Linked DNA regions of Homo sapiens: regions 2 and 3 are each linked to region 1. Evidence: promoter capture Hi-C in 16 types of primary human blood cells and fetal thymus (Javierre and others, 2016). All regions are on one chromosome and are shown on one strand. Each heading gives the region's core, a stretch centred on a gene start or on the middle of the fragment in contact. The rest is flanking DNA. Distances are from core to core; before and after follow the strand shown. Region 1 holds the start of TM6SF1 (transmembrane 6 superfamily member 1). Region 2 holds the start of SNHG21 (small nucleolar RNA host gene 21). Region 3 has its middle 36 kb from the start of WHAMM.

What was found. Contacts are between HindIII fragments. The CHiCAGO score rates a contact against its expected background, and 5 or more counts as called.
Region 2: a contact is called between a fragment that was not itself captured here and the fragment with the promoter of TM6SF1 in region 1, in 1 of 17 cell types (megakaryocytes). The highest score is 5.8, in megakaryocytes.
Region 3: a contact is called between a fragment that was not itself captured here and the fragment with the promoter of TM6SF1 in region 1, in 3 of 17 cell types (M0 macrophages, M1 macrophages and M2 macrophages). The highest score is 8.8, in M0 macrophages.

Annotation. Positions count from the first base shown.
Region 1 is chr15:83,105,349-83,110,270 of GRCh38, forward strand. It overlaps TM6SF1 (transmembrane 6 superfamily member 1), which reads left to right and starts at 2,297. Exons shown (of 10, transcript NM_023003.5): 1 at 2,297-2,424. The coding sequence starts at 2,333. RefSeq lists silencers at 1,925-2,204, 2,235-2,354. The HindIII fragment of the contact is 11,695 bases long and covers 1-4,922 here.
Region 2 is chr15:82,747,840-82,752,761 of GRCh38, forward strand. SNHG21 (small nucleolar RNA host gene 21) reads left to right here and starts at 2,725. Exons shown (of 3, transcript NR_110098.1): 1 at 2,725-3,009. RefSeq lists enhancers at 2,409-2,538, 2,829-2,898. The HindIII fragment of the contact is 2,402 bases long and covers 802-3,203 here.
Region 3 is chr15:82,843,575-82,848,496 of GRCh38, forward strand. It overlaps a transcript of HOMER2 not described here. Among named protein-coding and RNA genes, the nearest start is that of WHAMM, 36 kb to the left of the region's middle. The HindIII fragment of the contact is 1,426 bases long and covers 1,992-3,417 here.

The DNA of each region.
Region 1 (4,922 bases), core at 1,047-3,546:
TTGCAGTGAGCCGAGATCCCGCCACTGCACTCCAGCCTGGGTGACAGAGCGAGACTCCATCTCAAAAAAAAAAAAAAAAAAAAAAAAAAAAAAAAAAAAAAAAGAGAAACTGTTGTCAACAAAAAAATCATGTAATTCCCAATATGTATATCACAATACCTTGAAACTTTGCCATGTCACTTGGGTCCCTTGTGGGCTCTGAGGGAGCAGCTCTGAGACTGATGCAACAAGGTTGGGTGTTGATGGAAGGGATGGGCTGGCTTGGGAGCCTGGCTGGGAGCTCAGAGGTATAGGAGGAAGTGTCTCTTGTCAGGGAGGAAGTAGGAGTTTAAGGAGAGTGGTGAAGGTTAGGGGTGGAAGAGGGTGATGTGCAGGTGACAGGTGAGGACACCTCTTGGAGAAACTTTGGATATGTCACAGTGTGGGCCAAGGCTTAAACGTTATGCACTCAGAGCTGGAGAAGCCTTCAAGAAGAACTAGGATGAAGGATTAGGAGAACTGGCATTTGAAAAGTGGAGTGGCCCTGGAGCAGGCCATACCTCCTCGTAGCTCATTTTCCTCATGTCTAAAATGAGCCAAATGGTCTTTTAGAGGCTAGGTGCGGTGGCTCACACCTGTAATCCCAGCACTTTGGGAGGCCGAGGAGGGAGGATCACTTGAGCCCAGGAGTTTGAGACCAGCTTGGGCAACATAGTGAGACCCTGCCTCTACAAAGAAGTGGTGCGAGACTGTAGTCCCAGGAGCTAAGGAGGCTAAGCTGGGAGGATGGCTTGGCGTGGGAAAGTGGGGACTGCAGTGAGCCCTCATCTCTCCACTGCCTCTAGCCTGGTTTGCAGAGTGAGACCCTGTCTTAAAAAAATAAAAATAAAAATAGGCTGGGCGCGGTGGCTCACGCCTGTAATCCCAGCACTTTGGGAGGCCGAGGCGGGCGGATCACGAGGTCAGGAGATCAAGACCACGGTGAAACCCCGTCTCTACTAAAAATACAAAAAATTAGCCCGGCGCGGTGGCGGGCACCTGTAGTCCCAGCTACTCTGGAGGCTGAGGCAGAATGGCGTGAACCCCGGGAGGTGGAGCTTGCAGTGAGCCAAGATTGCACCACTGCACTCCAGCCTGGGTGACAGAGCGAGACTCTGTCTCAAAAAAAAAAAAAAATAAAAATAATAAATAAATAAATAAATAAATAAATAAAATAAACCCCTCAAATGGCAACAGCAAAAACACATAAATGGTCTCTTAAATTCCCTGGAAGTTGTAAAGACAGTAAGTACATGCCGGTACCTCCCTCAGTTGCTTGAGCTGTTCTCCTGGAACTCACTGCCCTTCAGATAGCCACAACACTTGACACACAATATTTTCCATACCCGTAGGCATCTATCATTCAGAGGAAGAGGCTTATCTTCCAGTCTTTGTACCCTGCAGGGCCCAATGCAGGCTGGCTGGTGGGCACCTGGCCTCCAGGAATGCTTCCTGGAATAGCAATGAATGGCGCTCTAGTCTCTTAGAGTCTCAGCATTTATGTCCATTTCAATTAAAGAAAAAAAAAAAAAAAGAATCGCAGGAGGTGGTGTAGTGAGCAGCACAGGATAACGCGCTTCGTAGGTATGAACTCAGTTAACCCCACAGTCACACTATGAAGTGTGTTATCCCCATTTCCCAGATAAGGGAAAAGACAGAGAGGTTAAGTAATTTGACCAAAGTCAACAGCTGGTGACTGGAGAGCCAGGTTTAAAAACCGGATGCCGGCTCCGTGCAGCAGCCCGCCGATGGCTACTGGAGCGGAGAGGTTCCGAGGTTTCAGGGGCATTTTGTCCTTTCCCACTTCTGGGCCGTGGGCTCCCCCATAGACGATCCCGCGGGCCCTTCCTCCTCTGACACCCTCGGATCTGGTTCCACCTTTCCCGGACCGCAGCTCAGCCCCGCGCCTCTCCAGCTCTTCGATGACCGGTTCCCGGCCGTGCCCCGGGCCCTCCCTCGGAGCGCGCGCCGCCAGGGGCACCTGTCCCTGCGCGGGGGTGTCGCCGCCCCTCGGCGCCGCCGGGCGCTTGCCGCTGAGCCGTGGCGCCCCTGGCAGGAGCACTGCAAGGACGCCTCCCGGGACTGCACCGCGGCCCTGCGCACTTGGGGCGACGGGGCCAGGCGCGGGGGACGGCTGCGGGCTGGGAGGGCGCGCGGAGGAGACACCGCTGAGGGGACGCCGCTGAGGGCGCCACGCGGGGGGCGCGGCTGAGGCGCCTCGAAGGGCAAGCGCCAAGGGGGCGCGGGCGCCGCCGGAAGCTGGGGCGGGGCGCCCAGCGGGATGCGGTGAAGGGCGAGCGGCGCGGCGGCTGCGATGAGTGCCTCTGCGGCCACCGGGGTCTTCGTGCTGTCCCTCTCGGCCATCCCGGTCACCTATGTCTTCAACCACCTGGCGGCCCAGCATGAGTGAGTGAGCCGGCGCGGCGGGGGTCGCGCCGAGGGGCGGCGGGAGTTGGCTCGCCGCGACGGGAGCCTCGCAACTTTTCCGAGGGGGCTGGGACCGTCCGCCGCGGGACAGAGGTTCGTGGCCGCAGGGGCTCCCCGCGCCTGGCCAGACTAGGGGGGCGCCCCAGGGGTCGCACGGGCCGGGTCTTGGAGCCGGGCCCTGAGGTGCCCAGGCTGGCGCATTTCGGGATGTTGGTGCCAGCACCGCGCCAGGTGCCCGGGGTCACAGGCGTCAATACGGCCATGCCCCTGCCCTGGAGGGGCCCAGGGGCCGGTGGGGAGCGGAACAAACACGGACACTACGAACCTGGCCGTGTCAGCTCGTTTGTGCCTTGTTCTTTTTGCATCTCACGGGAACGTTTCCATGTATGGACTTTCGCATACTTATCATTTCTTATTAATTTTAGAAACTGTTGTGAATGACTAGCAGAAATAGCCCGGAACCAACAGGCAGAGACGTGGGTTCTAGGCCTGGCTTTGGCACTGACGGTGTCTGGCCTGACGGTGTTTGGCACTGACGGTGTGGTCTGGCCTCGGTTTTCCGGTCAAGTGGACTTTGTGTGCGTCCTATTGTAAGGTTCCACCGAGACCTCTTTGTGAAGGGGCGTTGTGAATGGAGAAGTGCTTCCCAGTGCCTGCGCTGGGGTAGGATGGGGACAGGCAGCAGAGGCAGAACACTTCAATGTGAAGGAAATGGGTGGGGCTGATGGAGGGGGACAGGGCTTGGGTTCGAAGCCCTGCCTCCCACTCCACTGCAGGGATCACGGACTAACCTGCAGCCGGCAGCTGAAGGCCTGAGGGTCGCCGGGTGTTGGGACAGGCGCCAGCCTCTGTTCCTGCTGATGTTGGTTGCTGTCTGGAGGGAGGAGGAAGTAACCTGCTATGTCTCTCAGCTGTTGGTGCTAAGGAAATTGCATCAGTCTGTAGGCTGCAAACCCCCTTCAGCTGGTCAGGCCGTGGAGTGTCTGTACATAGGGTGGTAACTTCCTCCTCTCCAGCTGCCTGGCCGCCTGATACAGGCAGCACCCACACTGAGTGCTCACCAGGCACCAGCAGTGTCTACCCTTGGTCTGGCCCAGTCTCTGGAGGCATCCCCTGGAGGCAGCTGCTCTGGGCCACCGAATATTACATGCCTGTCAATATAGTGCATGGGGGACCCTGTGCTCCAAAAAATGGCATTACGGGTAGTTCAGTGAAGATATACTGAGTGCCTACTGTGTGTTTGGCACTGTTCCAAGTGTTGGTGACATAGCTATGAACAAGCCAGAAGAGGCTGTGGAGGCAGGTAATGAGATAGACATCAACAAACATTAATACATCGATAGTGACATGCTATGAAGATAATAAAATAGGGTGACTGGGGAGGGGGCTGGTGGCCAGGGAAGGCTTCTAGGAGGAGGTAACACTTGAGCTATGGGAAGATCTGGGAATGGAGCCTGTCGGGCAGGAAAATGGAGCAGTGCAGGGGAAGGAATTGGATGGGCGTAGTAGGTATTTTGGAAGGTGAACAGATGGGGCTTACTGAAGAGGGTTGCATGGCAGCAGAGGATTTGAGGATGAGCCCTAGGTTTTGGCCTCAGCCACTGGGAAGATGGTGATGGCATTTACTGAATACAGACTGAACTATGTATTGCTGTGCATGATGGAGCGCACTGGCAAGCACTACAGCATTTTGAATAATTAGTGTCAGCCATTCTTCCTGTCCTCTTGCAGGTTAAAACCCCCGTGGCCTTTGATTCCTCTCTTCTTTCTCCACTCCCTTCCTCCTACTGTCTGCTTCCCCATAAGTCCTGGGGCTCTAGTGTCTGTTCCCTCCTTTCAGTTCTCCCTGGCACTGGCCCTTTCTGACCTGGACTGTGGCAAAGGCTCCGGTGCAAGTCTCGCTGCCCAGCCCCGCTGCGTGTTTCTCGGCCTCGGCCCCCCAGTCCCAGCCCACGCACTAGTGCTCCTGCCGCACCAGCCTGCCTTTGCTCCTTGACCATTCCTCCTCCTCTCCAGCCTCTAGCCCGGACTCCTGCTGCTCCCTGACAGGGATGCTGCCTTCCTCCTATCGCAGACTGTTGAAGCCGCACCTGGACTTTATGGCCACTTCTACCTTCTGCAGACCCTCCCTCTCTCTCCTTTGAGCTCCCTCAGTCCCTTGTTTGCACCTTTCTCCCGAGAGTTACTTTCCTGTGGTAAGAACTTACCTGCCCCGGCTATAGCTCACCCCTCTGTACTGTCCTGCCCAGGCCAGCGCCGTGTGCATCGTAGGCACTCAGGTATGTTTGACTTTGTTGAATCGAGTTTCCTTCCCACCAAACCTTTTATGCAACTCTGAAAACCAGAAAAAGAAAATTAGATTGAGAGGTCAGGAAAGGATTGAGCGTGTTCTGTCTCCCTCTCTCACTGAGAGAGACACACTGCTCACACTCATCCTTGCATGTCCCCTCTCAGTAGGTGTCTGTTCATAGAAGGGC
Region 2 (4,922 bases), core at 753-3,252, 360 kb before region 1:
AGAGAAGCATTATGTAATGATTAAGAAGTTATTTCTCCAAGAAGACATAACAGTCCTTAAAGTGTATGTGACTAGCAACATAATATCAAAATATGTGAGGTAAAAACTGATAGAACTGCAAAGAAAAACAGATGAATCCATTGTCATAGTTGGAGATTTCAACATATTGCTATCAGAAATAAACAGATCCAGCACAAAGAAAATCAGTAAAGACACAGTTGAACTCAACAACACCATCAATCAACTGAATAATATTGACATCTGTAGACGACTTCATTTAACAACAGCAAAATACACATTTTTCTTAAGCTCATAGGGAACATTCACTAGGAGAGACTACATTTTGGGCCATAAAATACACTTTAACCCACTTAGGAGAATAGAAATTATACAATGCCTGCTCTCAGACAACAATGGAATTTAACTAGAAATCAATAATGGAAAAATAACCTAGAAATCCCAAAATATTTGGAGATTAAACAATATACTTCTAATTTACATATGAGCCAAAGAAGAAATTTCAAGAGAAATTTAAAAATATTTTGAATTAAATGAAAGTGAAAATATAATCAAAATTTGTGGGAAGCAGTTAAAACAGTGATTAGAGGGAAATTAACACCATTGAATGCATATATTAGAAAAAATGAAAGATCTAAAATCAATTTTAGCTTTCACCTTAGGAAAACAGAAAAAGAAGAGTTAATTAAATACAAAGTAAGTAGAAGAAAACAAATAATAAAAATTAGAGCAGAAATCAATGAAATTTAAAACAGAAAATAGAGAAAATCATTGAAACCAAAAAGCTTGTTCTTGAAAAAGAGCAATAAAAGCAAAACACTTCTAGTAATCTAACTATAAAAACAATTGAGAAGGCATAAATTACTAATATTAGAAATGAAAGAGGGGAACATCACTACAGATCCCATGAAGATTAAAAGGGTGATAAAAACTCTATGCCCAAAAACAAAAACAAGAAAAAAACTCTACGCTCATAAATTTGATAGCCTAAATGAAATGGACCAATTTCTTGAAAGATACGATCTGGCAAAACTCACACAAGAAGAAACAATCTGAATAGGCCTATATCTATTTTTTAAATGGAATCAATAATTGATAACTTTCAGAAACAGAAAGTACCAGGTCCAGATGGTCTAACTGGTGAATTCTATGAAACATTTAAGGAAGAAATTATGCAAATTATCTATAGTCTCTTTCAAAAGATAGAAGTAGAGAGAATCTTTCGTAACTAATTTTTTTTTTTTTTGAGATGGATTTTCGCTCGTCACCCAGGTTGGAGTGCAACGGTGCCATCTCAGCTCACTGCAACCTCCACCTCCTGTGATCAAGCGATTCTCCTGCCTCAGCCTCCCAAGTAGCTGGAACTACAGGCACCTGTCACCACGCCCGGCTAATTTTTGTATTTTTAGTAGAGGCGGAGTCTCGCCATGTTGGCCAGGCTGGGCTCAAACTCCTGACCTCAGCTGATCCGCCCACCTCGGCCTCCCAAGGGGCTGGGACTACAGGCGTGAGCCACCACGCCCGGCCCCTACCCATCCTTTAAAGGGATACTCCGAATGTCTATGAACACTCAGATAAAACTGAACTAAATTTGAATCCACTTGTACTACATTTATTTGTCAACTCTTCGTTTGTCTACTTCTTGAGAACTTTAACAGCTGTACTGGGTTGGTTAGTGTCGCCCCCAAAATTCATGTCCTTCCTGGAACCTCAAAATGTGACCTTATTTGGAAAGAGTGTCATTGCAGATGTGATTAGTCATGATCAGGTCATACTGGAGTAAGGTGAGCCTTTTACCTAACAGGACTGGTGTCCTTATAAAACACACAGAGACAGAGACACACAGGGAGTATACCATTTGATAACAGAGGAAGAGAATGGAGTAATGCAGCTACAAGCGAAAGTACACCAATGATTGCTGGCTCCCACTAGAAGCTAGGAAGAGGCAGGAAGGATTCTATCCAGAGTCTCAGAAGAAGCAAGACCCCACTGACATCTTGATTTCTGACTTCCAGACTCCAGAAAGCGAGAAAATATATCTGTTGTTTTAAGCTATCCAGTGTGAGGTACTTGGTTATGGCAGCTTCAGAAAACTAATACAACAGCAATTTCAATTTCTACTTTATCTTCCTAGCCCCAAGAGTACCATGTGGCTATTAGAGTACAGGATTATGTAGGCTCTCAAATCCCTTCCATGGTAAAAGAATGATTGGGCTTCCAGCAGTGGCCAAGAATTGCCAGACGCTTATGAGCGCCTGCTGCGAGATGCTTGTACAGTGAATGCTCAATAAAGTGGTGGCCATTATAACCGCAAGCAATGAGACTACATAAATAGTAAGAAACGAAATAGAACAAGGGGCAGCGGGAGCAAAGAGAGAAACAAGGGCAGCTGAGGAAGGAAGCCTCAATTCCCCGGAGGACATCCGCGGGCGGAGGAAATGTGAATCTGCAAGTCGTTCTCCCAGACCCCGCTTAACGATTCCCGGCCCTTTCTCCACTCCCTACAGCCCTCGGACCCAGCAACAACCGGATCCTGTGCAGGTCTTCCCTGAGTCCAACGCGATTCTCCTGGATAACGTCAACCAGCTGAGCGATTCTGAGCCTGCGCGAAGCTCCTCGGCGCTTCCAGTAATGTCACGCTGGTGCGTGGGGCGGGACTTCCTCTCACGCGCAGGAAACGAGAAGGGCTTTTCCGCCGGAAAGAGAGTGGATTTACTAGGAAGGTGGGACGTTGGAGGGGTGGCCGCATGGAGTGAGTACTGTCTCTGGCCACCGAGCAGAGCCAGTGACAGCAGCGTCCTGGTAGGCAGGCAGGCGTATCAGGTTTCAGAGGATGCGGCTGGGAACGGGAGTAGAGGTGAGGGGTCGTTGCATCTGTCGCGGTGTGTATCTTTTGGGGGTTCAGCGCCACCAGCGACTTGGGCCTCATTCATCGCGCTTACATTTCTCCACCTCATTTGAAGAACGAGCTTCGTAGCCCACGGAGCTGAGGTTAGTATAAATGTGGAAGGGAGAAGTATGCACTCACCAGACTAAAGTTTACAGTTTTCACATAGGTTGTGCTGTTCTGTGTCCCATAAGGGCCTGCGAGAACCCAGACATTCTGAATCGGTGACGCCTGCTGGAGGCAGCAACACCTGTTGCATTAATTTTAGAACACACACACACGGAGTTGGTAATTCTTAAGCTTCCTGAATCTGCTGGCGGTCATTTGGTGTCAGAAGCAGAGCAAAGCCATCTTGGTCATCTCCCTCCTTTTAGCTTAAACCGAAGCATGATGGGGGAGATAGGCCGAAAGTTATACAGCTTGTTAATAACAGAGCCGAGAGTGAAAGCGCGATTTCTTCATTTTTAGCCCGGAATTATTTGTTGTACACCATACTGTTTCTTTGCATTGCTAGACAATTCGTCTTTTTTTACGAGGTTGACGGGGAGTTGCAAGGAGGAGTGAAAAGGGTGGTAATGTACATCTACATACAGTATAAATCCATGAAAGGCAAAATCCGTGTGTGTTAGGAGTTAGAACTGTGTCAGTCATCTACATCTTCCATAGTTTGTAGATGGAGATGAGTCTGTCACGTCGCTCTGTCATTTCCCTTTTAGCAACAGATGTGTAGTAACAATATGTGAAGAAGGAACTTTCATTGCCTGTTACATACATTTACACAGAGCGGCCTGGGGTTCACTGAGCAAGCTATGTGCTCACCCTAGAAAACTGATTCTGTAGAGTGCACTGCAGTCAAACCTCAGCTGTTTTAAGTAATCTTACATTTGGTGCTTGTGTGGCTTAAGTGTCTTGTGCATTATTGCAGTCATCTCTCTCATGTTATGAAATGGAAATGTGTTGTAGGAAAGTGGCAAGCCTGTGAAGAAAGTAAGTGAGCCTGAGGCCCAGAAAACCATACATTAGCAAATACTGAAAAACTGTTCACATCACATAGGGGGTATCTGAAGTACTGAGGAGCTCATTTAACCGGATGTTCATTGTGGGGAAGCCATGAATAGCCTCCCTCTCCTGGGTTCAAGCGATTTTCCTGCCTCAGCCTCCCGAGTAGCTGTGATTACAGGTCCATGCCACCATGCTCGGCTAATTTTTGTATTTTTAGTAGAGACAGGGGTCTCACCATGTTGGCCAGGCTGATCTCGAACTCCTGACCTCAGGTGATCCTCCCACCTTGGCCTCCCAAAGTGCTGGGATTACAGGTGTGAGCCACCGTGCCTGGCTCCTATATAAACAATTTTCAAACTTGTTGGTCTCAAGAGCCACTTAACAGTTATTGAAGACTCCAAAGAGCTTTTGTTCATATGAAAATAGTTTTGACTTCACTAACCCCCAGAAGGGCTTTCAGAAGCCCCCACAGAAACCAACTTTTAAGAACTACTTTATGCAGATGTTTCAAAGACATTTTAGATTATGTAGAGGAATGATTGCTGTTGTGATTGTGACATAAGCAGAAGTATCAACTTAAAAATGCAACAACAAGCACAGTAGCTTGTATTTCCAGTAGCTGTATAATTCCAGGCACAGAGAACACAAACAGATGTCCATTTTTAATTCTTTTCTTGTTTTTTTTGAGACAGGACCTCACTGTCACCCAGGCTGGAGTGCAGTGGTGCAATCACAGCTCACTGGCAGCCTCGACCTCCTGAGCTCAAGAGCTCCTCCACCTCAGCCTCCTGAGTAGCTGGGGCCACAGGTGTGTGCTACCACCCTGGCTAATTAAAAAAAAAAATGTTTTGTAGAGACAGTGTCTCTCTGTGTTGCTCAGACTGGTCTCAAACTCCTGAGCTCAAGCCATCCTCCCACCTTGGCCTCCTGAAGTGTTGGAATTACAGGCGTCAGCCACTGTGCCTGGCCTGTGATATTTTTCTATGCTTGGAAAGTTTATTAATCAGCTAGGATA
Region 3 (4,922 bases), core at 1,455-3,954, 260 kb before region 1:
TCTAAACGTTTTTAAAAAGCCATACGTGCAACTTAAAATTTTGTTTTACAATGTTTATGAAATAAACCTCTTAGAAATCAATGATACTGCTGAACACCTTAAAGGGTTACATTTTAACCAAAAAAATATTTTTTTTAGCTCTCTGTCCCCAGGGTAACTCCAGTGTTAAAGAGGAAGCAGTACACACTCACACACTGTGGGTGGGAGTATAATTGGGTCTGTCTTTCTGGAAGGCAATTTGAGGCAATACATATTACAAGTCCTAAAAATGTGCATTCTTTTTTATTGTTGCAACAGGATATGTTATGCTGCAGTTAACCAATTAACCCTGAAACCCCAGTGTTTAACACCTAAGGTTTATTTTTTTTATTCATGCTACCCGTCCATGCAGGGTGGCAGGTGAGGGTAACATGAAGGGAGAAGGGGGCTGCTCCACGTAGTCACTCAGGGATCCAGGCTTGACAGAGGCTCTGTCCCTGGGACATCAGCATTTGCTGAGGGAAGGGAAGGCAGACACTGCGGAACTGCTCATGGGCATTTCAGTGTCTGTCTGGAGCTTCATGTGTCACCTGTGCTCACATTTCATTGGCCAGAATTAGTCATAGGACCCTGAATGAGTACAAGGGGGATGGAGGGTGAAGTCCTGTATGCCTCAGAAGGAAAGGAGCCGCAGATAGGGAGGCGCGTACTTTTGAGCCAGTGATAACTTCAGAAAATTACCCTAAGTCAATATTCTGAAAAGTTCGCAAGGATGTTAGAAGAACTTCATTATGTCCTTGACTACAACAGTAAAAAAATTGGAAACAACCTAAGTATCCAAGGTACAACCTACATAGAGGTTAAAAATAATGTAATTACATATTTACTGATATAGAAATCTATTCACAATATAGCATTAAAAGGGATAAAAGTTATAAAACAGTATGTATAATATGATTATATTTCATGGAAAAAGTAATAAAACACACACAGATGCATAGAAAAAAGTCTGAAAAGATAAAAACTGAAATGTTAACAGTGGTTATAATCAGATAGTGTAATAACAGGTGATTGGTTTTTTTCCCACTCATCTGGAATTTCTTTAAAAAAAGTATTATATTATTTATGTACCAAGAAAGCATTTAAAAAGGGAAACAAAAAACAGTACTCTTGGGAGAGTTCACTTATCCACTCCACTCTTCTCATTAAACTCTTATATTTGATGCAAGGAATGTCTTCTTGCCTGTCACATCATAAGACGCTGCTCTCACAACTGACGTAAAGTCGGGACTTCCTATTAAAAGCAGTACAAGAGGGTAAAAACAATAGCACAGCCTCACAGCTGTGAATCATCAGTCCTGCCCATCACTCGCCAAAACATGCACCACTTGGGACTCTGCCGTGGTTTACGGGCTCCTGCCAGGTGCCCTGGGGGTCTCTAGGGCCCAGGAGAACACTTTGCCGCAAGGCTCTGCACCGTCAAAGAGAGTAGGGCACTGAACAATTCCACTTCAAACAAAAGATCCACAAACTTCTGGTAAATGGATTCCAGAACATAGATCACCACCACCAGAAATAGAAAATAAAGTCTCCTCTTAGGTATACATATTTTTAATTAAAAACGCTTCCTTACTGTTTCTCCCACTTCCCCTTTTGCTGTTTCTTCACACACACACACACACACACACACACACACACACACACACACGCGTGCGCACATACACAGTCGTAAGTTCACTAGAACATTTCATCCAGCTCAAAATTCTTACCAAAGCCACCTTCCTGCCTGGGTAGTGTTTAAAGCCAACTAGAAAACCCATATTCTTGAGATCGGTACATGGAAGAGGCATGTAAGTAACATTTTCTAGACTAGACAGGAGTCCCTCTCCATGCCAAAACCCCCATCATCTCCAGAATATATACTGTTTCTTTGGGGAAGCCATGTACTCAGAAATTAGGGTCCTTTTAAAGCATGCATATCTTTAAAAATATACATGGACATTGATCTTGCAAGCTTCTAGTTTGCAAGTGCTTCAAAATCTAGTGATGTCTCAAGGCAATGAAAGAATTTAGCTTCTAGAAGGATGAATGGAACAAACAATCCACTTCTGGATATTAGCAAAGACCAGTGGCTGCCTCTTTTGAGTGCCTGTGCTAAGTCACATCACGTCTGCCTTCTTCCCAAAGGTGCACCTGGCCACATGTGAGGTCCCACCATAACGTCCCCAGCGCGTCCTGTGGTTGGCTCTCATCCAAAATTGTCCCTGGTTTCTATAGAGAAGGAGACTTTTCTAAAGAAAAAGAGCCCTGTTAAAATAGGCAGAGCATGATGTTTCTGGGAGGCATATTCACTGTATTACGCTCCACCCTTTACTTGATGTTTTGCATCAAATGTAGTCCACAGCAGGCAGGCGCCTGCCCACCACCATCAAGGCTGTGCTCATGGAGCCTGCAGGCTGGAGACCAACTGCCCTCTGTGCACAGTCTTCCTGGGTGTTGATCAGGTCCCGTTCAAGCTGCTCCCACCACTGAGCAAGGCTGCTCCCTCCCCAGAAAGCCAGAAAGGAGTGCATCTCCAGGAAGGGGCGGGCAGTGGACAGGCCACCCCCAGCCAGAACTCTGTTTCCATTCCTGCGATCTCAGGGCCTCCCACTTGTTTTGAACATACTGCTCTGCCTCCACTAAAGCCATCAATAAAGAACTCAGGGTGTGTTTGTTTTCCATAGAACTGGCCTCACAGGCAGAGACATCATTTTAACCAACTTTCTTGGAAAGATTCCTGCAAAACCAGAATCATTCCAAAGTGGAACTTATCATTTATAACAAACATTCCTAAATGTCATTCGGATTCACATTTTTGTAAACTGTCCTTTGCTGTGGACACATATTGAAATAATATAATTGTAATATGCTCTTATCAGGATATAAGAATTATTTTCTCTTGGCACCCACGGGTCACCAAAGGGACTAGAGTGGCATGTCTCAAAAGATACTGCATCAAGGTCCAGGAGACCTGGATGCAGAGTCCACGCTGCTGGTCACCGCTGGGTGACCCTGGGCGTGTCACTTTCTCTGTCTCTACTTCCCATCTGCAAAATGCAGGTGACAGTCTCTGCCCTGTTCTCTCACCCAATTAAAGTCTAATGTGATGGCAGGCAGGAGAGATGAAACTGAGGGGCCACACAAGTTCGAGGTCTTGTGTGGATACTGGTTCTCTTTCCCTCCAAGGCCTGACCATACTGTCCCAACCTGTTGCTCTGGTGGTTTTACATTCCCCGGGCGGCACTAGGAAGGCTTCCTCGCCACTCCCAACTTTAAAATGCATCCAGCTGGGTCTTGACTGGAATGAAAGGTTATTTTTAAAGGTCCTCTTGGTTAAAGGGTTCCAAGTTTTAGTTGATCTTTTTTAGACACCAGGTTTCATGGAGGCAGAAGGAAAGCTTATCAAGGTATAGCAGCCAGTCTTGGAAACACCAAAATCAGGAGACCTCAATTGCAAACTGAAAATGCAGTCCTGGCCCTGCAGCTTCCAGGCAGCACAAGCGGCTGCGATGCTCACGAGTGAATGGCTTACATTCTGCCTGAGTCTGGCGTAAGGTTATGACAACAGTACTGAGACTGGGCTGGATGTCAGAATAAACGAGGGCACGTCACACCAGCTCAAGGGAACACCGTCCAGGTTGCTCCAGGGCCACTATTTTAAAAGAAAGTAAATGAAAAGACACTGAGATCTTCAGAGAAAAGCAGAAGGAATGGAAAGTTCAGTGCTTTTGTAAAAGCTGTTGTGCTTTCACGGCCAAGCCCAACTTACCTTTCCCTTTAAGGGAGTCCTTACTACTCTTAGCTCCAGGGTTGCAACAGCTGTAGAGCTGGACACACAGCAGGAGGAATCCAAGTTCCTCACCTGCTGCCCACAGGATGCTCACCACACTCTTCAGTGCTTGGTGAACTGGGATCATGGGTCTCAACTGCACAGCAGCCCACTGTGGAAATGGCTCTTCCAACATTTTCTACACCTCCACTTCTGGAGTTTTCTAAAGTCACTGCTATCAGAATGTACAAGTGGCTTCAGTAACTATTCTATGCATGTCACCTGAGCATTCTCTTGTCAGTCAAGCGGGCTCTTTCTAGATTCATAAGTCACCTGATAAAGGCAGAGGTCATCTGAAGACCCCAGCGGAAGGTGTTTGGAACCCAGTGTCCACTGCTCCCAGGCAGCCACACACCCAGCCTGCTGCTGGGCAGACCAGGCTGGCTTGAGAATCCCCTTATCCCGCTGCTGGGCCACGGGGCTGACTCATAGCCAGCTCGGCTCTCTGGTCTCCTGGTGCAGCCAGGAGGGAGCTGCTACCAACTGTCCTGAGAGCCGTCTGGAGCTCTGGGGAAAGGGAAGGGCCAGCAGCAGACTACCCCGAATCACAAAGATGGCTGGCCACGCTTTCCACTTCCTGTCTGCCAAAAGCCCTATGTACTCAACCAAAGCCCCCACTCACCTTGCGGGAGCTCCTCTAAAAGTGCCTTGGTGCTCCAGATGCCCAGCCTTCCCTTCCATCCACATCCCAAACAAGACTCCCCAGCTCAGAGAGGCGTCTCCGTGAGGGGAAGGGAAGGAGAGCAGGAGGACTCGTGTTCACCTTGGGGCCCAGGGCACCTGGGTTCGGACCCCATCTCCCTCCTTCCTCGGGTTGTTTGCTCATTAATCCAAATTCAGCAGGGAGAAAGTCTAACCACGTCCATGGGAGAAGGTTTCTAGAAGGAGTAGTCCTCTTAGGTGGTTCTCAAAGGGGTGAGGGGGCACCAAAGCCTCCCCCCTGCTCAAGGCATTTAGAGATGTGTGGGGCCAGGGATTCAAGCCATTATTGCCACACACGGGCAATCTCCCAGGGCAGGATGCCAACAGCACCCACAGGCCCGCTGGCCCCACTGAGCAGCTCTGTGAGAGA